Linked DNA regions of Homo sapiens: all the other regions are linked to region 3. The links are contacts of gene promoters, found by promoter capture Hi-C in human tissues and cell types (Jung and others, 2019). All regions are on one chromosome and are shown on one strand. Each heading gives the region's core, a stretch centred on a gene start or on the middle of the fragment in contact. The rest is flanking DNA. Distances are from core to core; before and after follow the strand shown.

What was found. The method cuts DNA at HindIII sites, captures the fragments that hold promoters and counts their contacts. A contact is called where the count stands out against the background at its distance.
Region 1: a contact is called between a fragment that was not itself captured here and the fragment with the promoter of PIGZ in region 3, in 1 of the 25 tissues and cell types used here (dorsolateral prefrontal cortex).
Region 2: a contact is called between a fragment that was not itself captured here and the fragment with the promoter of PIGZ in region 3, in 1 of the 25 tissues and cell types used here (dorsolateral prefrontal cortex).

The regions. Positions count from the first base shown.
Region 1 is chr3:197,418,012-197,422,588 of GRCh38, forward strand. LOC105374308 (a long non-coding RNA gene) reads right to left here. Exons shown (of 5, transcript NR_189108.1): 4 at 2,969-3,067; 5 at 1-218. Among named protein-coding and RNA genes, the nearest start is that of LINC02012, 89 kb to the right of the region's middle. RefSeq lists an enhancer at 1-415 and a silencer at 27-321. The HindIII fragment of the contact is 7,267 bases long and covers 1-4,577 here.
Region 2 is chr3:197,287,082-197,291,452 of GRCh38, forward strand. All of the region lies in intron 3 of DLG1 (discs large MAGUK scaffold protein 1), which reads right to left. Among named protein-coding and RNA genes, the nearest start is that of MIR4797, 4.7 kb to the right of the region's middle. The HindIII fragment of the contact is 4,093 bases long and covers 266-4,358 here.
Region 3 is chr3:196,965,955-196,970,158 of GRCh38, forward strand. It overlaps PIGZ (phosphatidylinositol glycan anchor biosynthesis class Z (Gwada blood group)), which reads right to left and starts at 2,879. Exons shown (of 3, transcript NM_025163.4): 1 at 2,733-2,879. LOC124906255 (collagen alpha-1(I) chain-like) reads left to right here and starts at 3,179. Exons shown (of 3, transcript XM_047449439.1): 1 at 3,179-3,295; 2 at 3,442-4,204. The coding sequence starts at 3,179. RefSeq lists enhancers at 2,456-2,991, 2,992-3,527, 3,528-4,063 and silencers at 2,599-3,048, 3,109-3,318, 3,329-3,388, 3,499-3,558, 3,669-3,988 and 1 more. The HindIII fragment of the contact is 30,202 bases long and covers 1-4,204 here.

The DNA.
Region 1 (4,577 bases), core at 467-2,966, 450 kb after region 3:
CATTTTGCCATCTCTTGCACCCGAGCTGAACTTCTGGCTCAGTGTGTCTGAAGGCAGAGTGGGAAGACAATTCAGGTAGCAGAGAAGTGAACAAAGGACATTCCCTGAATAGGCGAATTCAAGCTCGTTAGCAGTTAGTTAGCCTGGAATGAGGCTGATCATCTGTCGGCGGAATTTTTCAGGAGCTGCAAATGGTTGGAATCTTTGTTTTCCTTTTCCTGGGAAAGAGAGGTCCATTAGCTCTCCAGCTGCATTAGAGCTTAATTTATTTTGTTTTGTTTTGGTTTTTAACACTGTAGAGGGGACAGTACATTCCAAATGTTAGAGGACAGCTAAGGGAGATTCGTCCTCTTTAGAGGGTATCATTAAGCATATGGTGCCTCACAGGGATGGGGAAGGCAGTGCACAGGCAGGAGCCAAGACAGGGATTAGCTCATAGAAGGCGGCTGGCTGGATATAGGAAGAGCTGCCAGGTAAAGGGACCCAAGCTTGGGACTTAAAGCTCAGGTCTAGTCGTGTTTTTAAAGAGTTGTCATCTTTCAAACATACAAGGGTAAAGATTTAGGAACTGCCCTCAGGAATGAGATGCATGAAACTCACAGACAAACCGAAATCCCAGAATCTTTGGTACCTAGTGGACATTTCCCTGGGGCTGACTCCTGGGCGGGGTGTCTGCTGCCCTCCACTAACAGCCAGGGAGCCCAGCCCTTGGTATAGGATTCCTGGGCAGGGTGTCTGCTGCCCTCCACTAACAGCCAGGGAGCCCAGCCCTTGGTATAGGAGTACAGGCTGAAGTGCCCAGGGGTTTACCCGATCCCACAGTTTTAGAGGCAAGAAGCTGACATTTAAGGCTTGAATAGTGCTCCTTTTCTAAGTAAATGACAACCTGGAGAAAGGTCTAACTGAGCCAGGTGTTCGACATTTTCAAACTGACTTTCTTTTCAAAGAGACCTGGAAGATTGACTCCCATCGTACTCTCTCCCAGCCTCCCGGTGGAAAGGGAGTCCCTAGTCCCATTGTGGCTCCAGAATGTGACAAAGGCACAGGCACAGGCTCAGCTTGGCTTAGCCTGCTGTCCCTTCCCGAAGGCTGTGTCTTCAGTGGGATGAGAAAGACTTTGGCAGAGGCTTTTAGGCTATGAACAGGCCAGGTGCATTTAGTCAGCAGTGTAAGCTAATACCAGAAAAGATGAAGTAGAGAAAGGCGCTGTGAAATTGCCACCTGAGGCAGAACCATATGAGGCTGAATCCAGGGGAGACCCTGTTTCTCATGGCCCTTGCCTGATGGTCATGATAAATTAAATACAAACACCTACCCATATGCTAGAAATTGATTTCAACTCCTTTACCAAATAAGCAAAATATCGGCATCGATTATGTATAGTTAGATCTCTGTTTGCCAATCAATCTTCTTCTGCAATCCCCGATCTGCGCTAGACAGAGCAAACCCCTTCTCTGTGCCACCTGAGCAGTGCTTTAGTTGGACTCTGCTATGCTCACTGCTTCGGACAGGGAAAGTGACTCTCCCAGGCTACAGTGGACCTGTAACTTACTCATCTTGCATCCTCAGCAGTGGAAGGCTCTTGGTGAACGTCAATGGAATGAACCTGTGTGTGCATGTAGTCCATCTATTATCTCTAATAAACACTGAAAGCCAAAGAACAAGGATGGAGTAATCAGGAAACAGAGAGAGAGGTATCATCAGGTAACCAGGAGGAGTAATCAGGAAATAGAGAGAGAGGTATCATCAGGTAACCAGGAGGTAGAGGCGTAAGGTTGAAACATATGAAATCATTCATAGCCAGTTAGTTTCTCTTCTAACTGACCTTCTAAGTGACCTTCTAAGTGACCTTCTCCTGGTCACCTCACTCCCCACATCCCCAAAGGAGGAAGTGCAGTGGACAGGTGTTGGCTGAGAGTCCAGAGGACCTGGATCAAGAGTCAGGAGGGTGGGCTTCTCTCTAATTGAACGTGTGGCTTGGAGTCAGTTCCTCTCCTTTTCTGGGCTTCAGTTTCCCCTTCTCTAGAAGAAGAATAGACTAGGTGGCCTCTCAAAGTCTTTACAGCTCTGATATTTTGTAATTTTATGTATCTAATGCTATAATTCCAAAGTATTAAAGAAAAGGGCAGTGCCCCATGGTTTGAGGGGCAGAGACTATAGCACAGATTGCACCAAACCCTGAATTTACCCAGCAGCCTTTGGCCCTGGAGGACCTAAGTGAGTTTCAGCCTGAAAACACTCAGTGTTTCCAATGCCAGACCCCAGCTGCACAAAATAGGAAAAATCTTGTTAGGAAATGACCACAGTCCCCTAGAGCTGTGGAAAACATTGCCTCAGACAAAAAGGACTTTTCCATTGGGAAAAAAAAATCAGCAGTATTGTGTCTGCTGATGCTGTCTGCCCAGGCGGTTCTCATCGAGTCCTGCCTACTCAGGTCCCTGGCTCTGGGGCAGTTCTTTTCCACTTCATGTTGGTCCTAATGGTAAATGCAGGTTGTTCTCCTCTTCTGGCCCCAACTGTCCCAGGAATCAGACTTGGAAGTCATTTTAAAATTCATCTTTGGACTGTCTGACTTTTCAATACTTCCTCCAGAGGCAAAAATCACAAAATGCTTTCACCGCAATGGGTCTCAGAAGTTATCTCGTGATACCTATTTAATCCCCTGTCTGTGGAGGAACATGACGTCCCAGGTAGGGAAGTGCATTGCTCAAGGTCACATAGAGAGGTCAGGGGACCTGGTCCTGAGCCCAGTTCAGGGTTCTTTCCATTTCCAAGCTGTCTCTAGCCACAGGGCCAATTCTCTTCTACCTTCCCACAGCAGATGTTTCCCAACCAACCAACTAGCCAACCAGCTAACCAACCTGCAAGTATTTCCTATAAGCCTTGGACTGTGCATTCTCTGATGCTCTGCTGTAAACGATTATTTTTTTACTGTTCCAAAATGCAGCAGTAAAGAGTAAGCACTCACCTTTGGGGGCAGAGCAGAACTGGCCTGCTTCTTTGAGTCCTGCTTCGATTTCTGGAGCTTAAACATAGTGTCCCATCATTCCTTGAAGACATGCAGCTGCTAAGAAAGAGTTGCATATTTGTAAGTGGGGGCCAGTGAGAGATGTCTGGTCAGACCCCAGTTCTGGGGCGGGGTGGCTTTGGTCTGAGTGGTGGTCAGACCTATGCAGGAAGCCGCACCAGGCAGAGAGGAGGCCTCGGCCCGCCCAGGTTCCCACCCAGGTGTCCACCCTGGTGCAGTCCCCTCTGTCTGCCACCACGAGGACCTCTTCCTGAGGTTCCAAAGTTGAGCCGAGTGTAGTCCTTGCCCAGTCGATGCTTTCTGGGCTCACTCTCTCAAAAAGGAAGTAGCCCCTTTTATTCTTAGACCACCACAGATGCAGACAAAGCCCGGATTTTAAAGAGGAAATTTCTACTAAAATAAAATAGAAAATAAACAAAACCTAGATAAGATTATATTTATAGACTATAATTTTCTAAATAAAATGTAAAATGCACATTTATGGTAGAAAACGTGGAAATATATGTTTTAAGAATTCATAAGCCCACCCATCGCCTAGCCCAGTGCCGCCTCTGACACGGTAGCAAGTAAGCATGCGCTGCTCCCGAGCATTGGAAATGCGGCTGATCTGAACGGAGATGCACTGTAAGTATAAAATATACACCGGAGTGGAAGATTTAGTTCAAAAAATGTAAAATATCTCATTAATACTTTCAAAAATACTCATTACATGCCTGAGATGATAACATTCTGGATATATTGGACAATACATAATTTTTTTTTTTTTTTAGAGTCCAGTGGCATGATCTTGGCTCACTGCAACATCTGCCTCCCAGGTTCAAGCAATTCTCCTACCTCAGACTCCCGAGTAGCTGGGATTACAGGCATCCGCCACCACACCCAGCTAATTTTTGTATCTTTAGTAGAGACAGGGTTTCGCCACGTTGGTCACGCGGTCTCAAACTCCTGACCTCAGATGATTCACCCGTCCTCGGCCTCCCAAAGTGCTGGGATTACAGGTGTGAGTCACTGCACCCATCCAGCCAACAAATATATTATTAAAATTAATTTGACCTGTTCCTTTTTACTGTTTTCAGAAGCTACTAAAAACCGTAAAATCATATATATGACTCACATCACATGTCTGTTGGACGGCCCTGACCAAGAGAAACCACGGATAACATTCTGGCGCACCTGCTCCATTGTGGGGTGTATGTATTTGACGAGTCTGGCTCCTGGTCAAACACCTATGTGTGATTTTTCAGGTCTGACTGCAAGCAATGGCAGAGGCTTGACCTGGCAGCCCTCCTGGGGAAGCTCCCCTCCCCACACCAGACCTGGTGCCCAGCCAGCACACAGGAGGCTCTGAGGGGAGTTAAGGACTCAGCCCTGCTATGCTATGCTCTTCACATATTTGCATTCCTAGCCCAGTGTCTTCATTCCTAAATCTCTTTCTCTGAGGCCTTCGGCTGAGGTTTTTTTTCAGGTGCCTCTTCCGAGGCCTCTTTACCAGGGGGAGGAGGGCGAACCCTGAAGACATGCTTCCCCACTCTGAATCAGCACCCAGGAT
Region 2 (4,371 bases), core at 1,062-3,561, 320 kb after region 3:
GCTGGTCTCAAACTCCTGGGCTCAAGGATCCTCCCACCCTGGCCTCCCAAAATGTTGGGATTACATGCGTTGAGCCACCACACATGGCCTACAAGATGGAAAAGGGAAGTGGGGCTTTGGGATATGGGAACTGTACTTTCCACTCAATTCTTCTGTAAATTCAAAACTGCTGAAAAAAATCTATTAATTTCTTAAACTGCATGAGAGATAAATAAACTTATATTAAAAGGCAATCTCATACTTTATATCAAGATAATTTTCAAATGCATTAAAATGTTAAAGTCTTGAAAGAATTTGAATACAGGTTTTTACAATCTTGGCAATAGATTATAATAATGTTGGGGCTTAGAGCATTGGGAATGTTTCCAAACGTATTAAGGGCAGAAAGCAGTATATTGATAAAGAAAAATATTGATAAACCCAACCATATATATATATGTTTTCTTTAAAAGCCAAGTTTAAAAGCAAGTAACACGGGAAGTTATTTGCAATTTACACGGCAGAGTTGACAGGCCTAATGTAGATTTTATACCTCTAAGAAAAAGGAAAAAGGAGGAGGAAGGGGCACAAATTAAACAGATAATTTACAAAAGAAATTAAAATAATTAAAGACTTTCTTACAGCTTTGGATATTTCTTTAATCAACAAAATGCACAATAAAACAGAAAAATGACTAAAGGTATATTCCATATATCAGAGTAGAAAATATTTAAAAGATGGATAACACTCTGTATTGCTTAAGGTATGGTGAATTGGTCATTCTTCCACATACTTCCTAAAAAATAAATACAACATTCCTAAGAGTATTTAACAAATTACCTCAATAGCCTTAAAATGCACACTCCCTTTGACCAAACAATTCATTTCTAGGAGTTTGTCCTAAGAATATAGTAAAGAATTGAAACAAAAATGCATATGCAAATACAATATTTATAATTCACAAAAATTACAAACCTAAATGCTCCTAGGAAACCATTAAAAAAACTACAGAAAATCTATATAGGCCGGGTGCAGTGGCTCACACCTGTAATCCCAGCACTTTGGGAGCCTGAAGCAGGCAGATCAGGAGGTCAAGAGATCGAGACCATCCTGGCCAACATGGTGAAACCCTGTCTCTACTAAAAATGCAAAAACTAGCTAGGCGTGGTGGCGCACGCCTGTAATCCCAGCTACTCAGGAGGCTGAGGCAGGAGAATCACTTGAACCCAGGAGGCAGAGGTAGCAGTGAGCCGAGATTGCACCACTACACTCCAGCCTGGTGACAGATCAAGACTCCGTCTCAAAAAAAAAAAAAAAAAAAAGAAAAGAAAAGGAAAAAAAAAATCTATATACACAGTCACTTAAAATGGTACGAATCTGGCCAGGCACAGTGGTTCATGCATGTAATCCCAGCACTTCGAGAGGCTGAGGCGGGCGGATCACCTGAGGTCAGGAGTTCGAGACCAACCTGACCAACATGAAGAAACCCTGTCTGTATTAAAAATACAAAATTAGCCAGGCGTGGTGGCACATGCCTGTAATCCCAGCTATTCAGGAGGCTGAGGCAGGAGAATCGCTTGAACCTAGGAGGCGGAGGTTGTGGTGAGCTGAGATCAAGCCATTGCACTCCAGCCTGGGCAACAAGAGTGAAACTGTCTCAAAAAAAAAAAAAAAAAAAAAAAAATACATACATACATACATACATACATACATAAAATGGTAGAAATCTACTGACATGGAAAGACATTTGTCGATAAACTTTAGAAGATAAAAACAATATGTATAGTACAGAGAAATCATACTATTCACACTTATACAAATACAACTGCAGTATATCTCCCCTGCAAAAAAGGGCAACTCTGTCTACCCAATAAGTGACTGTCACAAATAAAAAAATGAGAAGGAAGAAGATTCTTCCTTTAGGTAGTCTGAGTTTTCATGTGCCTCTCAAAATGTGAGCTTCTTGCTATATCTCACTGTGCTGAGTGTGATTCTATAATTACGTGTTTTTAGTACAAGAAGTCAAACAAGCCAGTTGCTTCGTCTAGGGCTCAAGTGAAGAAATCATTCCTTTCCACTAGAGGAAAAAAAACAATTGTGCTGTAATTAACAAGAGCTAGTGTTAAATTTCTGAAGGCTTTTCAGGGATAATTTTAACTAGATGAGGTTTTTCACCTTACATGCTGATTTTAAGTATCAATTCTCACAAGGGAAATAACTGTTTTACTTAGAAGTTTGTTTTGCAAAATGAAGGTGGGGGGTGGCGTGTATACACGCGCATACACACACACACACACACACACACACAAATAACATTCCAGGATATTCATCCCATGGATGAAGTAGGAGGTAACCTCTGGTGTGAATATTTTCTTATGGTATTTTACATATAATAATCTGATCTCAAATGTTTTATATAGAACATGCATCATTTTTATAATAAATTTATTTTGGAGGGTTACAGGAAAGGCAACTAGAAAGCTGAAGAACACTGAAATATAACCCTACCATTTCAGAGGAAAAAAATTCTATCAGTTCATTTACTAAAAGCAAGTATGATTATTCAGACAATACCCAATTGAGTAATCAAAATTAACATCATCAGTGAAGGGCAGATGACATACTAAGATAATACCACAATAGTCAAATCTACTCAAGCACAAATACTCTTTCTTCTAAACCAATGTTCATTTAAAAAGTCATTTTTGACCCCTAGAAGAAAGAATATCCTATAAAATTTAAAAGTTTGTACTATTGTTTCACACACTAAAGAAAGGAAAGATGTCAAGCTAGTAGGCAAAAATAAATCACTTGAATACTTTAGATACTATTAGACTAAGAATCATACATGACTCACAAGCATATTCCATAAAACAAGGTGTGTACTAAAAGGAACCAGAGCTTCTCAGAGAAATGGCTGATTCCAGGGCTGGGGCAGGAGAGGTACAAGATAAACCTGGAACATCTTGTTATGCCAAAAATTAAGAAAGTGCTCCAAAAAATGATGAGGGCATCTCATAAGGACACAAGCTTGAAAGGGCCCCCACTGGATCACTCAGAGCACAAATGTCATTAAGGATGGTAATAAATGATAAGTCATTGAAAAAAAAACAGGTATCTGCAAGTTCATGAAAGACACGGGAAAAAAAGAAGGAAGGCTCTTGTTTAGAATAAAATGCAAAGTGTTAACTGGTAAACCTAGGAGTGTTACTGTTAGAAATCTTACTTTTCAACAACCATATTATAAACCGGTTCAAGAATCATCAATGGATGCTAAATATGGGTGGAAATTTTGCTAAGGAGTAGGATATGTACATGGTGTTAAAGTGTCTCCCCCACATATTGCCTATAAGCCACAAGGGGTAAAAAACAATGACTATAGGATACAGAATTCAGACAACACCCAACTAGGTAATCAAAATCAGTATCATCAACAAAGAGCAGATGACTCTGTGTACCTCTGGATGTACAGAATCCTAAGCCAGGAATACAAAACCTGAATCTAATCACAAGGAAACATCAGACAAACCCAAAATGAGAAAATTATATTAAAAAAAAGTAAGAGTGGAAGGAACTGCGTTTTTCAAAATCATCAATCTCAGCTGGGCGCAGTGGCTCACACCTGTAATCCCAGAACTTTGCTCAGGAGTTCGAGACCAGCCTGGGCAACACCTGTCTCTAGAAAAAGTTAGCCAGGCGTGGGGGCTCACACCTGTAGTCCCAGCTACTCAGGAGCCTGAGGCAGGAGGATTGCTTGAGCCTGGGAAGCAGAGGTTGCAGTAAGCCACCACTGCACTCCAGCCTGGGTGGCAGAGCAAGACCCTGTCTCCAAATAGTAAAAAAAAAAAAAAAAAAAAAAAAGTCAGTCTCACACAAGACAAAGAAAAGCTGTGGAAATGTGCCCTAAGTAAAGAGACGTGACAACTAACGGTAATATCTGGTCCAAGTCTGGATTCTGCACTGAGGAAAAATATGACCCTGCAGAGAGGAAATGGCTTAGAAGAAATATTTAGATGCCTTTACAACTCTGATTCCAAGGTTCTAAAGAGAATTCAGCCAGATTCAACATAATCAAAACACTGCTTCAGAGCAGTAGTAAGCAAACTATGAGCAAAGAACTCAATCTAATTGAATCAAAACCATCAAGTGAGAAGTTACTAAAATTCTCCATTTCAGGAAGTTTCAGCCAACGATGTGATCCATATCCTGTTTTCCTTACTCAAATCTAGCCTACAAAGTTACACACACACACACACACACACACACACACACACACACACAGTTAGCAAGAGACTAAAATGTAACATCAGTGGGACTAATATAATGCAAAAGAAATTTAAGAAATTTTGACATTTTACCACTATAGCTGGAAGATCTCAAACCCTGATTACT
Region 3 (4,204 bases), core at 1,629-4,128:
GGGGCCATCCCCTCACCACCCTGAGGACCAGGTCCACATTCCTTACTGTGGCTGACAAGGCCCTCCATAGCTTCCAGTGTCCCCTTCCCGCCTCCACTCCTGTGTTCGTGAGTAGAATTCGGTGCTCCAGAAACATCACGCCTTTCTGCAGCCCTCTCCTCTATTCCGTGCTGTTTCTCACCCCAGCTTCTTGGCTCACACGGTTTCACTTACCCAATACGCTAATAACATGGAGGTTAAGACCAGCGGTGGCATCAGGTAACCCGGTTCAAGTCGTTGCTCTCTGTCACTTGTTCATGGTGAAAGCACTCAATCTCTCTGAACCCCAATTTATACCTCAGCTTTAAAACAAGTACCTATCTCAGGGCTGTTGTGAAGATGAAATGAAGAAAATATGCAGACATAAGTGGTTGCTTTCTTTATCCATCTTGCTTAACTGCCCTAACCCCCAAGAAGTCTTCCCTAACCCTCCTTCTGAAGGACCCTGTGCAAAACTCTGCAGGCGCCATGCGCTGACTGTTGTCTGATTATTTCTCTGCCCTGCTTGGCTGAGGTCTCCCAGGCATGGAGTCCCTTTGAGATTCATCTCCAGCCTGGGTGGGCCCACTGGGGCCCATCTGTCAAGGACAGAGCAGGAGGTCCTCCGGAGAAGGTGACAACGTAGTGGGGCATCGACCATAACAAATGCGGGAGCTCCAGGGAACGACCCCCGCCCGCTGGCGTCTCTCCAGTCTGAGACCCCACTGGAGGAGCTGTCCATGTGGCTGCCTCTCGCCTTTTATCCCAGGGGACAGAGCCAACGCCAAGCATGGCAACCACCCACCTTAACCTAATCAGGATGCAGCCTGCTCATTAATTCATTCATTCATTCAGAGGGATCTGTCCGGGTGCGGGTCCAGCACGGGTCCAAATCCTGCATCTCCAGTAGCCTCCTGGGGGTCGGTCGTCGGGAGGGCTCGTGAGCGGAAGGCTTTAGGATGAAGCGACAGGGCCCAGAGTCGTGGAGATTGGACTGGGGGGCAGGGGAGCAGGCATTGACAACCACGCCGACAGGGGCATCCCGCGCGCCTGTGTGGGAGAATGTGTAGGGCAAGCAGCAGGGAGAGACCATCTCAGAGACAGGGGAACAGCCAAGCAGAAACCACTGTGCTGGGCGCGGGGGGAGGCCGGGAAAGACAGCACATCTGCGGGGCGGGAGGAGGGGAGGGAAGGGAGTAGAAACACTGCTCCCGCCAGCCGCGGGTGATGGGGACACGTGTCCAGCTCGCTGAGTCCGAGGGCCTGGGCCCGCTTTGGGTGCCCTGTTTCTCCGGCGCCCAGGTGTGTGCGCAGAACCGTGTCTGCTCCAGGGACAGCCGTGAACGAGCGCCGTCCGGAGTGGCAGGGCCATCAGGTGTGGCTCATTCCAAGAAAGGTCCGTACCTTCACATGTAAACTTCCTGGCAAAGCTGCTGGGTTGCCGCTTATGGGAGAAGGCGGCGGGCCCAAGGTTCGGCCCCTTTGTCTGAATCTGGCATTTGGAGCAGGCTTTAAGACTTCGGGAAAAGCCGGGCCCCTGTGCAACCACCAAAGGCTGCTTCTCCCGCCCTCAGGACTAAGATCTTGTTCCAGTCCTCCAGTCCTCGGGGTCTACTCCAGGGGTACAAGGTGAGAGTGGCTCTCCAGAGTCCATTTGCCTTTTGGTGCCGCACTGCATCCTCACTTTGACCCTGAGCGCTGCAGTAAGCCCTGCAGGGTGCTCCACCTTGAAGCACGGGAAGATCTGATGCTGGCCGCCTTCTTCCTTCGGTTGCCTGAAAGGGCCCGTGTTTATCCTTCGCTTCACAGAGAACGCAACACACAACATTAAACACACATAGAGAGTGAAAGAGAACAAGGCATCTTCATCAAGGAGGGCGCACCATTTAACCACCCGCGACCTTGCAGTGCGCCTCTGCAAAGTGGGGACTCCGCTCTGTAGCAGGAGATGGGGGTGTTGACGATTTTGAAAGTAGTTCTCAGTTTTCCGAGGCAAAGGTGTCTGGGGCTGACGAATGACTTTTGAGAAGAAGGAATGATGAGAAATGTCCTCATTACAGAACTTTCCCGGCCACACTGTGAGTCCCACGCAAAGACCCCATGACCACCAACCGGAGCGCTGGGTGCTCCCTGGCAGGGTCACCTTTGCTTTTTGCGCGCCCCCATGCCACCCCTGGGGCAGGAGGCCATCCTCTTATCCTGGGAGTGCAGGCCTGGCCCGAAGTGCAGCCCCCGAGGCCGGGAGCCGAGATTCTTCTCGGCTTCGTGCTCAGAGCTTTGCAGCGTGGCATGGTTTCCTCCTCTTGCCCTGTTGCTGTTTCATACCAGGGGGAACTGAGACCCAGTCGGGTTATGGGCCTCCCTGAGAACACTGGCCTCTAGCAGAAGCAGATTCAACCCCAGGCCTCAACCTGCGCCCAGACCCGTGCCCTGGAGTGGAGTTTACCCACTGCCGCCCTTCCTGGGCAAATGTCACCGCTGCCTCCGTCCCCCTAGGTCCGGGGCGGGTCAGTGCTTCGAGCCAGCGGACCCCGGCCTAGGGACAGGTGCCTGCGAGAATGCGGGGGGCGGCCCCCAGCTCCCCTGCCCTCCTCCCTAGAGGCTGGGCCTGCTGGTCTCCCGGCTGCGCGCAAGGTGGGAACGCGGCCGACTTGGTCCGCTCGCCCTCCCCGCACCCGCTCCTCTGGAGCCGCTGGGGCTGCGCACCGACTCACCCGCGCGGCCTCCGGGCTGCGCCTTCAGCGCTGGCGGCGTCCTGCCCGGCGAGGGCCAGGGTCCCAGGAGGCCCCGGAGGCGGCGGGACCGCAGGGCGGAGGGGAGGCCGTGGGAGCGGCCGGGCGCGCCTCAGCAGCGCGGAGACTGGGGCCGCCGCCGCCGGCGCAGGGCGGGCCGGGAGGGAGGAGGAGCGCGCGGGCGGGGCCGCCGTGTACGTCCCCGCGCTCCCGCCCGGCCTGGCCCCGCGGTCCCGGAGCGAGCTGGGGCCGCGCTGGGGAGGGTCCTGGGGGCGCCGCCGTCCCTCGGGCCGGGCAACGCCGGGCGGGGACCGGTCTCGCCCCGCCGCGCTCGGGCTCCCTCCCCGGCGGCCCCTCCTCGGCGAACAGCCTTTCGGCGCGGGGGGCTGTTAAACCAGACACCCCAGGCCACACTCCTCTCGTTCGAAATGACCATTTCGGGGTTCTCCGTGGCGGGGAGCTCCGCCGCCGCCGTCCCCCTTCCACGCGCGGGAGGTCGGCGAGGGCAGGGCGGGGACCCGGAGTGCGGCCCCCGGTCCTGCTTCGTGGCCCGAAACGCCTCGCAATGGAGTCACTCATGACAGGGGACTCAGCGCACGGGGCGGCTGCTGAGCCCCGCAGCGATCGGCGGGCGTGAGGGGTTCCCCGGCGTGGTTGCCCGGGAGCCTGTCAGCCCCAGCAGCCCTGACAGGAAAGGGAAGTCGAGAGGAGGCTGAGCGAACGGCCGCCACCCCCGCGGGACGCTGACCCGGGCGGACCCCGAGGGGCCTCTCCCCGCGCCAGAGCGCGGCGTGCGCGGGGAAGCGCGACCCACCGGGGTCGGCGACGGCGCGCGGGGCGGGCGCGGCGGTTCCCTCTCCTCCGCCCGTGCCCGTGGGATCGGCGGGCTTGTCGGGCTGGGAGAGCCTCGTGGAACCCGGGCATCCGGGCAGCAGCGGCCTCCGAGCCACTGTGGAGGCGCCCGGGGTCGGCACGGCGAGGCCGACGGGGACCTGACACGGTCACGCGGCGCCGGGGAGCAGGTTCGAGTGGCCGGGCGTGGCCGTGCTGCCCCTCCGCGTTCCGCAGGCGGCGACGGGCGAGCGGCCCTAGCGGGCTGCAGGGAGGACGCCGCGTGGACGGAGAGCCGGCGCCCGGGGGCCAGATCCCCTCCCGGGACGGGGCGCCAGGTCCCCGCGAGCTGCGGCGCGACGCGCGGGCACCCGTGTCCCACCCGGTGGCCTCGCCGCTGCGGGCTGCGCTGAGAGCGGGGTGGCGCGACGCGGTCCCTCACCGCAGGGGGAAGACGGCACCACCGCGTCCCGGCCGCTGGAGCTTCCCGCCCGCGCCGCCGGCCCGACGCTGCCCCCTGGCGGGAGAGCGCTGCAGGGGCCCCGGCGAGGCCGCAGGACCCGACCTCCCCGCCGGCCTCGCACTCCCGCGCCGCCGCCGAGGGTCGGCAGCCGGATCGCCCT